Linked DNA regions of Homo sapiens: regions 2, 3 and 4 are each linked to region 1. Evidence: promoter capture Hi-C in 16 types of primary human blood cells and fetal thymus (Javierre and others, 2016). All regions are on one chromosome and are shown on one strand. Each heading gives the region's core, a stretch centred on a gene start or on the middle of the fragment in contact. The rest is flanking DNA. Distances are from core to core; before and after follow the strand shown. Region 1 holds the start of PRR16 (proline rich 16). Region 2 has its middle 15 kb from the start of SRFBP1. Region 3 has its middle 2.4 kb from the start of DTWD2. Region 4 holds the start of HSD17B4 (hydroxysteroid 17-beta dehydrogenase 4).

Region 1 (4,292 bases), core at 1,010-3,509:
TTGATTTTAAGTCAGAATTATTTGTTTCAGTAGCAGCAGTGGATATCAGAGTATCAGAAGAGAACAGTTTTTTTTGTTTTGTTTTTGTGACGGAATCTCGCTCTGTCACCCAGACTGGAGTGCACTGGCACGATCTCAGCTCACTGCAAGCTCCACCTCCCGGGTTCAAGCAATTCTCTGCCTCAGCCTCCTGAGTAGCTGGGATTACAGGCTCCTGCCACCATGCCCAGCTAATTTTTGTATTTTTAATAGAGATGGGGTTTTGCCATCTTGGCCAGGGTGGTCTTGAACTCCTGACCTTGTGATCCACCCATCTCGGCCTCCCAGAGTGCTGGGATTACAGGCATGAGCCACTGTGCCTAGCCTGTTTTGTTTTTTTTTTTTTAATCTTTAGTGAATGAGATTCAGAGTAGCATGGACATCTTCTTATATTGTGGGAGGATTATTTTGTCACTGTGAGGGAAATCACAATTTCCTTTCCTCCTCTCCCATATCCTTGTCTAAAGTCACTTAACTTTGAGTTTGGCGGCTTTCTTACACACTTGCCTACTATTAAGAGTCAAAAATAATTCCAATCTAGAAGAATAGTACTTTCTCTTTTCCCCTACCATTAGCTTTTGCTAGTTTTGACAATTTTGGGGAGTCTGTAAACCTGATATAATTATTTTAATGTTATATTTTTTATAAAATAAAGAATTTGAGGAGAAAAAGGATGTTTTAAAAATCTAATTCTCCCTACCTCAGAGAACTCAAGCATATTACTTATTTCACACTTTTAATCATTTCTTCTCTTTTTCTTTTCTCCAGTTTGCATGCTGCAGACTTGTTCTTATAATCTCTTCTTAAGTCTTTCCAGCAGCATCTGCTTTTCACCTTTTCTCATTTCTTCCCCTGATTTTTCAATGCAGTTTTCAATGGTTTTCTTTTGACACCACTTTCAAATTTCAATTTTTTCTTCTGTTCTCTTTCTTCCTCTATATTCCACATATGACTTCCAAAGGTTTTGTAAAGATGAATTGTCCAGGATTAAGAGAGTGATTGATTAAGAGCCTACAGAACTGGGAAGAGGAGAGCTGCCAAGCTTTTCTTTATGTGTAGCACAGTGGAGCTACCCAGAGTGTGAGAAGCAAGAAACAGAGAGCCTTGCTAAGGCACGACGAAAAGGGGAAGCCTATTAAAAGAATGATCTGGAGGAGTGTGCAGTGAAGAAAATAAAGTAGAGCCAGCCTGCTGGGTCAGTAGCTAATAGCCCATGGGTTTACAACTAAGGAAGTTAAAATTCTAGCTAATGAGAATTGTAGACACCTACTGAGAGTGAACCGAAGGCTTCCTATTAACTTCCCTTCTTGGGTCTTTTTGACAGAACAGTCAGAAAGTTGTTTCCTATTTGTTTAGTAGCAAAAGAGTTGAAATGGAGGTTTAAAAAATGATGAAAGAGAAGTTGGAGGCAATCTCTTACTCAGCTCCTTCACGAGGTCCAAATACGATGTCTCCCCCACTCCACTCAAAATGTAAATCAGCATAGGTCACAAAAAGAGGAAGGACAGTTAAAAAAAAAAAAAAGAGTTGGGCCAAATAAGACATACAGCCAAGATGACTGAGACAATCAGAGAGGATTTGGGGTGTGGGGACTTCAAATTAATAAATCCGGTATTAGCTTTGTGGAATTAGCAGGATTAGGGTACCTCTTTCAAGAACACTGGTTGAATTTCATGGTTTCAATAGATGACCATTAGCTGTTATGTGCACCCCCCCCCCCCTTTTTTCTTGCAGAAGTTAAGAAGTCTGCTTAACTCGCAGGTCACCAAGAGATTGATTAAAGGCCTCTGGACATCATTTGGGTTTGGATAAATCTGTAGGGCCACTTTACAGACTGTCTCCAACTCCTGATCCCACTGTGGTTCTTTCTGAATTGATCCAGGTCCCTGCTAGCAAGTGAAGCAGAAAGAATCCAGGCTAGTTGTGAGATGACATACAGCAAGCAGGCTGAGATGATGGGGACATTTCAGAACCAAGAGGAGGGGGCGGGCAGGACACGGACTTGTCTCCCCCACCTTGATGCCAAGGTGGCATCTGGGAGATATCTCGAAGGGCAACGTCGAGGGGACTGCAAGCGTCAACCCTGGCGCGGCAGCACGGCGCCCCTCTCCGCGGGCGGGGAGCGAGCGCGTGTGCGCGAGAGCGCCGGGCGGCGGCGGGAGGAGGCGCAGGCGCGCTGCTCGCCCGTCTGCAGCCCCGAGCCGAGCGCCGCGTCTCGGGAGTTGATGGCAGCACCACTGTGCGGCCGCCCGGCCGAGCGCGGAGCGCAGCCACTCGCCGCTGCCCAGGGAGCGCCCAAGATGTGGGGGGACCGGGGCGGCAGCGGCCGTAGCAGCGCCAGGGACGGGGGCACGCAGCAGCCTCCGCTCGCCCGCCTGTCCTGACCTGCCTCGCTTGCCCCCAAAGAATGTCAGCCAAGTCCAAGGGGAACCCCTCCTCGTCCTGTCCAGCCGAGGGACCGCCGGCAGCCTCCAAAACCAAGGTGAAGGAACAGATCAAGATCATCGTGGAGGATTTGGAATTAGTCCTGGGCGACCTGAAGGACGTGGCCAAGGAACTTAAGGAGGTGAGAGGCGCAGGGGTGGGGAGGGAGTTCGGCACCCTTCGACCCCTCCGGGGTCCCCTTTCCGATTTTCAGCAGGGACAGCCAGATTTCCAAACTCCTGGGAAACTACAGAAAAGGCGCCTGCAGACGGACTTTCTTTGCTCCTGGAGTCCTGAGAGGAGTTGTTGTTGCACTTTTTAATTTTTTTTTTTAATCAGGAAGAAATCAACTAGTGTTTTAATCGATGGACCTGGGCTGGTGGGAGGGATGAACGCACGCGTGTCTCTGAATCTGTGTGTGTGACGACGGGGGAGAGGGTTAGCTGGGGGTGTGTCGGCAGAGGAAGTCGTGAGCAGCCCGGCTGGAGCGTGCAAGATGCTCCTCTCCTGCCCTATTGCTTCCCCAGAGTCCTTTGGCAAGTCCGCTGCCTATCTGTCAGCCTCCCCAAGTCAGGGCTGAAGAGGGGCCGGGTTCTGGGCCCTGGGCCAGATCAGGGAGGGCAGCCTGGAGGAAGCTTGGCTCAGACTACCCTCCCTGTCTCTCGAGCCTCGCTGTAGGGAAGGCGACCCGGGCTGCTGGCAGCCTTGGGGCTAAGGAGGGGGTCTGGGACTTTCTCACTTTCTCAGTTTCTGAAGCATCCCCTGCTCTCCTCCGAACGTCGTTACCAGTAACTCTGGGCCTTCCCGCCACCCTACCTCTGCTTCCTTCCTTCCACCCTGTCGCCACTTGGCATTGAACCCGAGAAGCAGGACGCGCAGGAGAGTGTATGTGTGGCCGGGGTCTTGCCATTGGCGTCCTGGCTCTCTGCAGCTGGGACTGCTTCGGTTCTTCCCCGCTTTTCCTATCCCACTTCGGTTCAGCCCTACTCCCGCCCGCCCCTAGCCCCAGGTGATCCAGATGGAAAGAAGCAGAGAAGGTGTCAGGGCTGAGGCTGCGTAACTCAGGCGGCGGCTCCGGGCGGGGGCGGGGGCCGGGCTGGGAGGGGTGGGGTCTCCCGAGCCAGGCTGGCTGCCGGCGGCGTCGCGGAGCTGGTAGCAGAGTCCCAGCGCGCCGCTCACTACTGAATGGGGTCCTGGTGCGGTTCTCGGTGAGGGAGTCCGCAGCTCCGCTGCGTGAGAGCTAAGACTAGAACTTCGAAGGTGGCGGTGGCTGCAGCGGGAAAAGGGGTGGGGCGTAGTCTAGGTCCAAAATTGTAATCCTGTTTCTGAAGCCAACGGGGAGGAGACTGAGGGTTGTTTGGATGACTGGCCTCTAGAGATTAACCTCCTGTATTCAATTTCCAAACCAAATTTCAAGAGCCCCCTCGTCTTCCTCCCCTTCCCCCGTTACCTCTATGAACTGAACTCTGCATTTGTTACCTAATGCAAGTCTGTTAAAATGGGCCATTCGTCACCAGGGTTAAGTTTGCCAGTGGTAAATGTCGTTCCTGTAGGTTACTCCACAGACAGAACATAATTAGTACTGAGGTCCTGAGAGTGGCTGTTAGTATACATAGATTCAGGGATAAAACTTGTTCGTGTTTTCAGGGTTTCTGTAGGATTATTGCTTCACAACTGGTTGACAGATGGTGGGGTTATGCATTGAAATTCAATTCTAAAAATGCTGTCCCTTTCTTTGTTATTCTTTTATATGACATCTTTGGTAGACTGTGTTTTCATCTGAAACATGGCGTTTTAAAAAATGAAATTGGGCATGTTCCTTTCGGCAG
Region 2 (4,292 bases), core at 1,029-3,528, 1.5 Mb after region 1:
TGTAAAACAAGAAACATGGAGACCAGTTTGCTGGCAATTTTGACAGTTTAGGTAAGAGATAATGAGAGGCTGAACAAAGGTAGTGAGATAGAGGACGAGGAATGAATTTAAAAGACATTTCATGGATACTTATGACAGAAATTGGTGACAAATAATCCTTTAAGGTGTCAGGGGTAAGATAAATGAGATATTAAAATTAATCAAATGTTTCTGGTTTAGATGACTAAGATTACATCCGTAAATAAGATAGAACAAAGAATAAGTTTTGTAAATAGAGCTGAGGAGGAAAAACAGCTGCTCCTGATACTGGAGAACTGATCTAAAACAGTGTTGTTACAAGTTGGTTTGATGCTCTAAACTAGGCCATATTGTTATGCTCTTGAACATAAACAGTCTCACAGAATATCAACATCAAATGAGATAACTCTGAGACCATGACTAAGTGAAACTAAAAAATGGTCATTGTTCAACCACAAAATACCAAATATTCCTTTCCCCAGCTAAAATGAGTGACTGTTTTATAAATCAATTTCAACTTTATCTTCACTGTAGTCAGCCTTCCCCATACATAAGATTTATTGAGATATTCATGGATTTTCCTTCTGCTTTCTGAAAGCACCTAATTTAGATCTAACCCCTGCTTCATCAGATCCTCTCCAAAATTACTCAAGCAAACCCCTAATTCTACAGATGCTTTCAAACACCTTCTTACCGAGACCCTATAGTGTGCATTCTCCCTCATTGAAACAAGTAATAAATCTAACTCATTTAACTACAGCTGTGCTTCTGGTGGTCTTTGGCTCAAGGTCATTGCATGGCAATAGGCCTAATATTAGACAATGTAATCTTGAAGTGTTTCTTGGGGTATAAGATACCATGGAAATACAGTTGCTGTGTTGTGTCATTCATTTTCTTTTGGTTCATTAAGTTCTTAGAGATACACTTTTCTGAGAAAAATCATTCTGCAGGAACCTAAAAAGGGACCAAAAATTTCAGAATTGCTTAAGAATCTACTGTCAGTGTGTTTTGATAAATTCTGTGTATCCAAACAGAAAGCAACCATGTAAAAGGCTAACTTAGATAAAAGTAATGTAAATATCTTTGCATATTAACATACTATGAAAGGTACCATTCAAGGCAAAAAATAAATAGGAGGAAAAGAGGTAATTTTTATAAAAAATTGGAGCAGTGAGGTCTGCTTTTTATTAAAAAGATTTTCTAAGCTTTATCATAAATATTGTCATTTTTGCAATTACAGTATGATATTATATGGTAACTGGTCATATATAACAATCTACTGCATCAACAGAATGACTTGGATTAATCTGGTATGTCATGTAGCACACATACAGTTAAAATCTAGCATGAAAGGTTAAATAGGAAATTTTGCCCAATATTTCTTAAAAGTGAAATGCTCCATTGTGATGAGATTATTTGGTTTAGTATCACATTACTCTCTGATATCTTTTAAACTTTTTGGGAACAGGGATAATTTGTAGAAAAATCTTGATTTAGGTTAAATATAGGTTTTTAAAACTATTAATGTTGTCCTTTTTATACTTTAATAAGAATGTACAAGGAAATTACTTTAGAAGAAAATGAGCTTCTATTTAAATGTTGAAATATTTGTATGCTGTGAGTTTAAGAAGCCTTTAATTACCTGTAAGTTTTAGAGAACCATCTGCTTTCTATGATTGTAAAAAAAAAAAAACTATGAAAGCATCATTTTAAAGGCTCCCTACAGACTATATTGATTTTCAAGTATATTTAATAAATTATTAATCAAACACAAAAAGTAGAGACATTCCTACATATTGGTGTGTCACGTAACTCCCTAATACCATTATCGTCTTTGTTTTTAAGTCCAAACTTCTGCAGATTTTATCCTCTCCCACAGCCCAGCCCTTGGTACTTCATTGCACTATACAGTTGGTTGTTATGGACATAAACATAGATCAGGGGTTTTCAACCTCAGCACTATTGACATTTGGGCTGGATAATTTTTTGTTGAATTAATAGTGTCCATGTGGCTAGGTCAGGTATGAAAAAGTCTGGTGTGAAGCAACCACTACCTGATGAGGCTCATAGCTTAGATAGTGGTACATGTTGGGAGGCAAGAGAGGAAGCGGTCACTGGCTCAGCCAACACAGTCAAGTCTGTCAATCAATGGCAAAGGACTGGGATGATGATCTTATACTAAAGCGCTCTGAAATCCAGCTTAGTGCCTAGGAGGTCACTGGTGACATTGAGAAGTAGACTTGCAGTAGAGTGGTAACAAGTAGTTACTAAAGTTCAGTGAGCACATTGAGGAATCTCTGTAAAACAATGAAGCAGAGATATCATGCTTGACTATGAACTGGGCAAAATAACAGAGCTTCTCTCTCTTACTCTTCTTCTTACTAGAGAAACAGCATTTGATTTCTTCAAGGAGAGGCTAGGTGACCTGCTAATTTTACCTCTCCAGGCCATATATCTTGCCTCTCTCTTGGTCTTGATGGAGAAGTGGACCAATAAATTTGTTACAAATACTTTATTCCTTGATGGACAAATTAAAAATGTTTTCTCTGAACAGGCTTACATTATAAACCTTAAGTAAAACTATTTATAGTTGAATTTCCAAATAAACAATTTATTGGGGAATAATATACAAGGATTAAAATTGCAATTCAATGCACACAATCCAGAGTAGCTCTTAGATGTGTCTGAAAAACAAAAAGAAAGGTTGGAATTTTATTGAGAAAAAGAGAAAAGTTATGTACGTTGCTTTGAAAGAAAGTTCATTGGCACTAGCAGTGTTGAGCTGAGTGTAGGAGCTTCTGAGCTCTAAGCAGTAAGTGGCAGCAGTTACTATGTAAGATGTAATCTTAAAATGATGTTTTTTTTCTCTTGAATTGCAAAAATAGTTCCTGGAAGGGATTTGGGTGTCCTTCCCCATGGCTTCCCAATTCCATTTTAGTTGGGTATGACAGGAATGTCTCCATTTTGAATAATTAACTTTCACAATATCATTCACTTTACTTTCTTTCAAACTTCTATCTTTATGTTTAAGTATAATGCAGCAAAATTTCCTTTAGAGATTACTCAATCATTTACAGATCCATAAATTTCCAGGTATTCTGAAACCTACTTCTATCAGTCTATTAAGATTCATGTATTTTGTTTTTTGCCTTAAAACACCTTACTTCAGTTTTTTCAAATGTTTAATAACTTAAGAAAACTATCATTTTTTAGGAGGGACGTGTGTAGAAAATATATTTAAGAAATTAAAAAGGTTTTCATTGCTAGGCCTAACAATGTTTTTGGAGATTTTAGGGGTTTATGAAAAATCCTTTGGAAGCTTTATTCTATTTGTGAAATAGTGTGTCTTCTATTACCTAGTTTTATCTAACTAATTTCCTCCAGTGGAAACTTTCTCTTCCTATTCTTCAGCTTCCTATTAAAGTGCTTCCTTCCTTGAAAATGAAACTCAAATTCCACCTCTTGTAGGAAGCATTCTCGTCAAACTGCTTGTTCACTGCCCTGTTAGACTCCAATAGTGCCTCACACTCTTACTACAGTACTTAATGCAGTCTATCTTGGTATTAGAATCATTTAAGTTACTACTCTGTAAGTCCACGGTGGACATGGACAATGTCTTCATCATTTTTGTATCTCCTACTGAACCTAGTACAATACTTTGCAAAATAGACACTCAAAAACGTTTATTAAAATGAATCAAAGCCAATCACTATGTTGAAAAGAATCTGAACTGGGTTTTAATAATGTTTTCTGAACTTAACTTTAAATTATTACAGGCTTTGTTGCAATAATCTTGAGCCTATTTTGGGCTAATTGGCAAATAATTAAAAGAAGTAAATTGTATATGTGAAGGAATGTATAGTTTATAAATTATATTACCTCATTAATTATTGATAATTAATAAATAATTAGATGAATGGGAATTAATGACATGGTGGCTACAAACTATTAATGTAATTTTACATTCATATCATAGAGCTGTTACAAAATTGCTACCAGTGATTTTATGTCAAAAGACTTGGACTGCCCCCTTATTACCTCTATGACCTTAGGTATATTTGTTATTCATAAGACATGAATCCCTCTTATGTACCATGCCTATCTCACAAAGTTACTGTTAAGATCAAATGAAATAATAAAAATAACAGTAAATTATTTAGAGGTAAATATTCATCAAGAACTCTATACTGTGTTTTCATTTAAACATCACAACAATCCTGTGAGATAGATTATCACTCCTATTTTCACAAATAAAGACGCCTTGGCACAGAGAT
Region 3 (4,292 bases), core at 1-2,500, 1.5 Mb before region 1:
GTTAAGTAGCGTCATTGGGAGAGGTAAGGGAAACCTCCCCGAGAGGACCCCAGTACCAAGCCCGAATTTAACTCCTTTAAAAGTTAAAATAAAATGGAATTCTGCATTTTCCGCCTTGGGATGGCAGTTTAAGAATTTGCAGGATTTCCACGCGTGCATGCATCGCAGGTGCGGCAGCTGATGCACTTATTATTTAAAGGCCAACAAAGGAGAGGTTATATCCACTGGGAACTACTCACAGCTGGTCCGTTTCCTTATGTGAATTTCCTGCTCTTCTATGTCTTGTGCTAATAAGACATCAAGCATGCTATTTTACACTGGACACCAGATATTTGTTAAATTAGATTTTTAGATCGTCCCCGATCAGGAAGCAATAGGAGAGCTGGCCCGGGGTACCAATAGGTTTTATGTATGAGGAAACAAGCCCTAGAAAGGTAACGTTGCCCAGGTATTTAACAACTACTGGATACGGCGGTATATAGCACAGCAGCTGTTTTTTAAAAGCCAAAATGAAATCTATGTTAGAATGAAGGCAGAAATACTATTTACCCAAAATGGGTATCGAATTCCTTTTGTTTATTAATGCTTTGTGTTACTTCCAGCAATACACAACATTAAAACAGAATTAAGCTTGGTTTTGATCAATCATGTGAATTAAGCTTAGGAATCACAGTTGTCTTAACTCTATAGTTGTAATAGATTAAATGTGAGGCAAAGTAGACAACACAGTAATAGAGCAAATACTGTATTTCTTAAAATGTTTATTTCACATTAGATTTTTCAGTCATCTTAAAATCAAGTTTGTGAATAAAATACCGTGCTGTTTTCAACTATCCTACGTTCTTTCCCCCCGGAAACAGCACCTCTCTTTTCCTTTGGAGCGTCCTATGTGAGGGATAGAAAAAGGCTGAAACACCCACCTGGTGATGGACGTAGAGTGGGAGAAAGAACTAGCAATTATGCCATTTGGAATCGGAGGATAAACAAAATCCAGAAACTGTAGGAAAGGAGATGAATCAGAAAATTCATCTTGTCTGTAGATTTAGGTTGGGGAACCAATTCTTTAACTGCCAAAATTAAATTCTCATGTGACTTATCTTTAAACGAAAGGAAGCTGCTCATCTTTAATTTCAAGAGGTGAAATGTGCTCAAGTCCTCTAAGGTCCCTTGAGACTCCCAATTGTGTGGTGTGAGAAGACAGATGATAAGGAAAAAAAAAAAAACTTTTTATCTAAGGAATGCGAGCAGTCATGTCTCACTCTCCCTTGAGCTAAATAATTACCTCTTGAAGGCACTTGCTATGCAGGCCCTAGACTGACACCGAGTAGCCATAAAACGCCGTATACCCTATAGTTCAACAATATGTATAGCCAATCACTAACCAATGTTATTTCTGTAAATAAATGACACTTCCTGAGACATAGCTTTTGTAATGCCCCCCTCTGCTGATTCGTTCTCTTTTCTTTAAAAACTCCAGCCCATTTTGTTCTCCAGAGCACTCTCCACAGCAACCTGGAAGTACGACCTAGGCTACAGTCCTCAACGTTGGCCCAAATAAACTCTCTATATTAATTTTGCCTCTGCTCCTTCCTTTTAGGTTGATGTGAGCCTACTTACTTGGGGCTTCCTTTTAACACCCCATATCAGATTATTGGCTTTACCCTTCAAAGTATTCAAAATCCAAACATTTATCTCACCTACTACTTCTGCCCTGGTTCAAGCCCCCGTCATCTCTTGCATAGAATATTGCCAAAGACCTAAGTGGTCTCCTGCTCCATCTCCGCTCCTTATGAAGAAAATCCCCTACAAGTCCATTGTCTCAGAGGCTGACCAAAATCAAAGAAAGCTTCCATCCAGGCAAGACACAGAGTTGAGAAAGGAGAGCCATTTTCCTCTATAGGAAGCAAGAAATTCACCCAATATCCAGGTTTGTGAACAATGACCTTCAGACGCCTGAGGAAACATGCAGGTGAGGTTACCACCTTGGGGCAGACCCAGGTATCAGACCATCAGTGACTCAGCTTCTGGGAAGTGCCAAGACACCAGAAAGGGAAGTAAAATATCCTTTATGGGATACAGACAACTTACTAGTGTCAAGATAATGTATTGAGGTGTTAATGTATGTTTTGTTTATCTCCCAACTTCAGGTAGAAAACCAGACTTTTATGCTCCTTTGCCTCAGAGGAGTTTGGGTAGTAAAGACTGAGGACAATCTTAGGTCCACGCCTGGTGTTGTGGGAAAAGGAGATCCTGTTACTGGTAGAGGAAAGGGCCTCAGTAATGTAAGGGATTGAATATCCTGCCAGGCCTGCAGTATGAGGATTCAGCATTGTATAAGATTTGATTTAAATGAAATAAAAACATGGTATTTTTTGCTATATTCATTTTCTATCACTGTGGAACTAATAACCACAAATTTAGTGGCTTTTTCCTTTGTTTTTTTTTTTTTTTTTGAGATGGAGTCTCGCTCTGCCGCCCAGGCTGGAGAGTAGTGGCGTGATCTGGGCTCACTGCGACCTCCGCCTCCCGGGTTCAAGCAATTCTGCCTCAGCCTCCCGAGTAGCTGGGACTACAGGCTGCGTGCCACCATGTCAGGCCAGTTCTTTTTTTTTTTTTTTTTTTTTTTTTTTTGAGACGGAGTCTCGCTCTGTTGCCCAGGTCGGACTGCGGACTGCAGTGGCGCAATCTCGGCTCACTGCAAGCTCCGCTTCCCGGGTTCACGCCATTCTCCTGCCTCAGCCTCCCGAGTAGCTGGGACTACAGGCGCCCGCCACCGCGCCCGGCTAATTTTTTGTATTTTTAGTAGAGACGGGGTTTCACCTTGTTAGCCAGGATGGTCTCGATCTCCTGACCTCATGATCCACCCGCCTCGGCCTCCCAAAGTGCTGGGATTACAGGCGTGAGCCACCGCGCCCGGCCCAGTTCTGTATTTTTAGTAGAGACAGGGTTTTACTGTGTTGATCAGGCTGGTCTTGAACTCCGGACCTCAGGTGATCCACCCGCCTCGGCCTCCCAAAGTGCTGGGATTACAGGACTGAGCCACCGCGCCTGGCCACTTATTTTTCTTTTAAGTGAAAACCAAGTTTATTAGGCAAGCAAAAGAATAACAAATGGCTACTCCACAGGCAGAGCAGCAGCTTAGGCTACTTCATCAAGGATACTTTTTTTTTTTTTAATTATTATTATACTTTAAGTTCTAGGGTACATGTGCACGACATGCAGGTTTGTTACATATGTATACATGTGCCATGTTGGTGTGCTGCACCCATCAACTCGTCATTTACATTAGGTCTATCTCCTAATGCTATCCCTCCCCGCTCCCCTCACCCCACAACAGGCCCTGGTGTGTGATGTTCCCCTTCCTGTGTCCAAGTGTTCTCATTGTTCAATTCCCACCTGTGAGTGAGAACATGCAGTGTTTGGTTTTCTGTCCTTGCGATAGTTTGTTGAGAATGATGGTTTCCAGCTTCACCCATGTCCCTACAAAGGATATGAACTCATCCTTTTTTATGGCTGCATAGTATTCCATGGTGTATATGTGCCACATTTTCTTAATCCAGTCTATCATTGATGGGCATTTGGGTTGGTTCCAAGTCTTTGCTAATGTGAATAGTGCCGCAATAAACATATGTGTGCATGTGTCTTTATAGCAGCATGATTTATAATCCTCTGGGTATATACCCAGTAATGGGATGGCTGGGTGAAATGGTATTTCTAGTTCTAGATCCTTGAGGAATAGCCACACTGTCTTCCACAGTGGTTGAACTAGTTTACAGTCCCACCAACAGTGTAAAAGTGTTCCTGTTTCTCCACATCCTCTCCAGCACCAGTTGTTTCCTGACTTTTTAATGATTGCTATTCTAACTGATGTGAGATGGTATCTCATTGTGGTTTTGATTTCCATTTCTCTGATGGCCAGTGATGATGAGCATTTTTTCATGTGTTTTTTGGCTGCATAAATGTCTTCTTTTGAGAAGTGTCTGTTCATATCCTTTGCCCACTTTTTGATGGGGTTGTTTGATTTTTTTCTTGTAAATTTGTTTAAGCTCTTTGTAGATTCTGGATACTAGCCCTTTATCAGATGGGTAGATTGCAGAAATTTTCTCCCATTCTGTAGGTTGCCTGTTCACTCTGCTGGTAGTTCCTTTTGCTGTGCAGAAGCTCTTTAGTTTAATTAGATCCCATTTATCAATTTTGGCTTTTGTTGCCATTGCTTTTGGTGTTTTAGACATGAAGTCCTTGCCCATGCCTATGTCCTGAATGGTATTGCCTAGGTTTTCTTCTAGGGTTTT
Region 4 (4,292 bases), core at 1,252-3,751, 1.0 Mb before region 1:
ACAGGAACAAATTGAATAATGGTGAATGCAGAGGATTTTATTGCCGATGAGAGTGGCTGTCAATGGGAAGGGGAGCTGAAAAGGGGATGGAGTGAGAAGGTGATCTTCCCCAGGAGCAACGCCATTAAGCCATACCTCTGAAGTCGAGCTGTTTCTTCTCTCCTCTCCTCTCTGCCATTGGAGCCTGGGGTTTTTATGGGCACAGGATGGGGGGCAGGGGGACCATAGGTGGTTTTGGAAAAGGCAACATTCAAGAGGGAAAACAGGGATGCATGTTCTCACTTTGGGCTGTGTTTTCAGGCTTGAGGTTGGAGCCCTCACTGGGGACCTGCCCTCTTCTGCCCAGAATTTCCCTGCCTTCTATCCCTGTCAGTTCCATTTGCAAATACAGTTTATCTCAACATTTCTTCTTCAACATTTCCTCTGCCTTACTTCTGGTTTCCATAATTTCCCCCAAATCTTTTCTATGTTCTCCTTGCCCACCTCTAATTATTGGGGGAACCTGCCCCCAATATTTCAACATAGGTTCTTTCTATTTTCCATAAGTGTCAGTCAGCTGAGAAATAGAGAAAGAGTACAAAGGGAGGAATTTTACAGCTGGGCTGCCGGGGGTGACATCACATATCAGTAGGACCGTGATGCCCACCTGAGCCTCAAACCAGCAAGTTTTTTATTAAGGGTTGCAAAAGGGAAGGGGGTGTAAGAACAGAGAGTAGGTACAAACATCACATGCTTCAAAGGGCAAAAAGCAGAACAAAGATCATATGCTTCTGAGGGAACAGGACAAAGGGCAAAAGCAGAACTACTAATAAGGGTCCAACAAAGATCACAAGACAAAGGGCAAAAGCAGAGCTACTGATAAGGGTCTATGTTCAGCAGTGCATGTATTATCTTGATAAACATCTTAAACAACAGAAACAGGGTTCGAGAGCAGACAACTGGTCTGACCACAAATTTACCAGGGCCGGGTTTTTCCCCACCGTAGTAAGCCTGAGGGTACTGCAGGAGACCAGGGCATATCTCAGTCCTTATCTCAACCACATAAGACAGAGCAGCCGTTTATAGACCTCCCCCCAGGAATGCATTCCTTTACCAGGGTATTAATATTAATATTCCTTGCTAGGAAAAGAATTTAGTGATATCTTCCCTACTTGCACGTCCGTTTATAGGCTCTCTGCAAGAAGAAAAATATGGCTGTTTTTGCCCAACCCCGCAGGCAGTCAGCCCATATGGTTGACTTCCCTTGTTCCCTAAAAATTGCTGTTATTCTGTTCTTTTTCAAGGTGCACTGATTTCATATTGTTCAAACACACATGTTTTACAATCAATTTGTACAGTTAACACAATTATCACAGTGGTCCTGAGGTGACGTACACCTTCAGCTTACGAAGATAACAGGATTAAGAGATTAAAGTAAAGACAGGCATAAGAAATTATAAAAGTATTATTTGGGAACTGATAAATGTCCGTGAAATCTTCACAATTTATGTTCCTCTGCTGCGGCTCTAGCAGGTCCCTCTGTTTGGGGTCCATGACTTCCCGCAACATCCAATCAATCCTCCATAATGGGCAAAGTGATCTTTCCATAGTGTAAATGTGTTCCCACCACTCTCTGGAGTAATCCTACTTAAAACCGTTTTCAGCACAAAATTCAAACATCTAAACATGATCTTGCTGGCTTTGCTTTTGTGGCTTTACCCTCTTTCTCCCCAAACCTAGCTAGTGTTTGTGCTGCCTGTAATGCCCTTCTTTCTTTGCAGGGGTCGCCACTTTAGGTCCTGGTCCTCCTTCAGAAAGTTTTTCCTCTTTCTCCCCAGCGGGGATAGGGTCTGTTTATTTTGACACCATTAGCTCACTTACACACATTGGTCACAAGTCTAGGCTGCACCGTTATTGAAAGTTTACCATCTGACTCTGAGTAGCTTGAGGATCCTATCAAAACTCAGGAGATGCTCAGTAAATGTTGATTGAACTATGACTGTTCTCAACATACAAACGCAAGATCATTTAGGAACACTTGTCAAAATGTTTTTGCCCCTTGAGATTCTATTTTGGGAGGTAAGCAGTGGGGGTCCAGGACTCTGCATTTTGACAGTCCCCTGATGTTTGCATGTAGAAGTGCAGGGATTATTACACTGACAAATCTTTACCATCCCTAAGGGGGACTTTCCTTCCCAGGGGCTATCTCTGGAAGCCCCTCAAGGATAGGGGCCGCATGCTGTTTCTCTAGGTCAGCAACTAAACCCAGAAAACGTTTATTGAGTGAATGATGAAACGACAGGTGAATAGATGAACGCAAGGTGTCGAGTTAACTATTCTTCTACACAAGTCCTAGCAGCTCCCATTGCTTCCAGCCGCAGAAATGGCCCCTGGAAGGCAAGTCTTCCAGCGAGTGGAGTCACTCTTAACTACATTTCCCAGGATTCCAAGGGAGCCGCGCGCTCTGCGCTCATCTTCCTACCAGAAATCGGCAAGTCACTGACCCTCGTCCCGCCCCCGCCATTCCCCGCCTCCTCCTGTCCCGCAGTCGGCGTCCAGCGGCTCTGCTTGTTCGTGTGTGTGTCGTTGCAGGCCTTATTCATGGGCTCACCGCTGAGGTTCGACGGGCGGGTGGTACTGGTCACCGGCGCGGGGGCAGGTGAGCATGCGAAGGTTGGAGGCCGCGCCCCTTGCTGAGGCGCAGCTGGCTGCTCTTTTCGGGCCGGCATACGCGCGCAGCCGCAGCTGAGGTCACCCCGCTGAGGTGGTGGGGAGGGGAATGGTTATTCTTGAGGCACCGCATCTCTTGAGGAGGAAAGAGCCGGAAACACCTGGTCTCTCAAGCAGGTACAGCCCGCTTCTCCCCAGCACCCCGGTGTGGGCTTCCCAAGGTCCTGCCTGAGAGGAGAGGCCAGGCTGGGCTGCTGATTGCAAAACTGGGTGAAAGTTCTCCCTGACCCTTATCTGTGGGCATCGATTGTTACTCTTCCTGCAATTAACTCTCTTAGATCTTTGCCTAGTCTTTTAAAGGACTGAAAAGCCGCGAGGGGCGGGGGCTGGAATTCGCCCCCTGAAGCGCAGAGATGTCAGCTCCTGAAAAGTCATTCGGTCGTTCAGTGTTTGTTTCCCTCTGTCGTAAGATTTTAAGTTCGTGAGAGGACCTTCTTTAAAGAGGGCGTCTGATAAGAGCCCTTCCCCGTTGGAGTTTGTATGCTTAGCAAGTCACAATCTGTTCTCGAAATCCACTGGAGTCTTGGCAGAGGTTGTAAGCTCAAATGCGCACAGGGGTCAGGCGTATGATGGAGAAAGAAAATGGGAGTAGGATGGGCACATCTGAGGAACTGGAGAGCAGAGAATTCCGAAGTGGACCGGCCAGTGGGAAAGTTGCCTGTATTTCAGGAGCGGCAAAATGGAAAATTGTTATGTGAAATAGCCCCATTTTTTAAAGTACAAAAAATTAAAACAAACCATTCATACCAACATAGATGCTGTGCAGTGAGATTTTACATTAGTTTCTCACCAGTGGGTGACCTCTGTAACCTCCAAGTGCAGGGATCTTGACATTATGCACCTTTGATTCTCCACTGGTAGTACCTTATACCTGGAAAGGCCCTAATGCATGAATTATTTGAGTTATATATTAAACGTTACAAACTGGAATTCTGTCAATTAATTCCTATGTACTTTCATATCTGTATTGATAAAGTGGCTTCTTATGCTGCCTTTCAGAAAATGCTTTCAGTGTTGATGAATAGCCAAGTATTTTATACCCATAGCTGTCTGGTTATCTCTGCATGGGCATGTATTTGGGTGTAGTCATACCTTCTAAATGTTTTTAGGAAAACATTTTGTTTACACTTTGCTTTTATTGTAAATAATGTATTTTACAACGCTTGGTGTTTTAAATCTTTTTTGACAGCTCTTGGATAATTTTCATGCAGGAGGTCCAGGGATTACATTCTAAGACGTTTTTGCCATCGCTAAGGAGACTTTCCTTTTCAGGGGCTATATCTGAAAATCATTCAAGGATAGGGACTGCTTCTTTTGACACCATTAGCATACTTACACATGGTATGCAGTACATTTTACACCAGTACTCAGTACACTTACACAAGCACATACATCTGTATTTAAAACCAGTTCATGATATAGTGTGTAGTACAGGCAATGCATCCTGAAATTTATTTTCTATTCTGTTTTATTTATAAATTGTAATTGTAACCCACAAAATTGATTTTGTGAAACAATGAGTTGTGACTAGACAGTTATGAACTTAGCACCTGCTGTTCATAAACTGGTTAAATTCTCTCTTA

What was found. The method cuts DNA at HindIII sites, captures the fragments that hold promoters and counts their contacts. A CHiCAGO score of 5 or more calls a contact.
Region 2: a contact is called between a fragment that was not itself captured here and the fragment with the promoter of PRR16 in region 1, in 1 of 17 cell types (megakaryocytes). The highest score is 6.4, in megakaryocytes.
Region 3: a contact is called between a fragment that was not itself captured here and the fragment with the promoter of PRR16 in region 1, in 2 of 17 cell types (total B cells and naive B cells). The highest score is 9.1, in total B cells.
Region 4: the fragment with the promoter of HSD17B4 here is called in contact with the fragment with the promoter of PRR16 in region 1 in 1 of 17 cell types (total B cells); the score reaches 5.1 in total B cells.

Annotation. Positions count from the first base shown.
Region 1 is chr5:120,462,041-120,466,332 of GRCh38, forward strand. PRR16 (proline rich 16) reads left to right here and starts at 2,260. Exons shown (of 2, transcript NM_001300783.2): 1 at 2,260-2,605. The coding sequence starts at 2,447. RefSeq lists a silencer at 2,179-2,228 and an enhancer at 2,634-3,135. The HindIII fragment of the contact is 2,017 bases long and covers 1,080-3,096 here.
Region 2 is chr5:121,945,076-121,949,367 of GRCh38, forward strand. No RefSeq gene overlaps it. Among named protein-coding and RNA genes, the nearest start is that of SRFBP1, 15 kb to the right of the region's middle. The HindIII fragment of the contact is 2,114 bases long and covers 1,222-3,335 here.
Region 3 is chr5:118,988,761-118,993,052 of GRCh38, forward strand. No RefSeq gene overlaps it. Among named protein-coding and RNA genes, the nearest start is that of DTWD2, 2.4 kb to the left of the region's middle. The HindIII fragment of the contact is 1,187 bases long and covers 658-1,844 here.
Region 4 is chr5:119,449,996-119,454,287 of GRCh38, forward strand. It overlaps HSD17B4 (hydroxysteroid 17-beta dehydrogenase 4), which reads left to right and starts at 2,502. Exons shown (of 24, transcript NM_000414.4): 1 at 2,502-2,638. The coding sequence starts at 2,581. RefSeq lists an enhancer at 2,603-2,652. The HindIII fragment of the contact is 7,394 bases long and covers 1-4,292 here.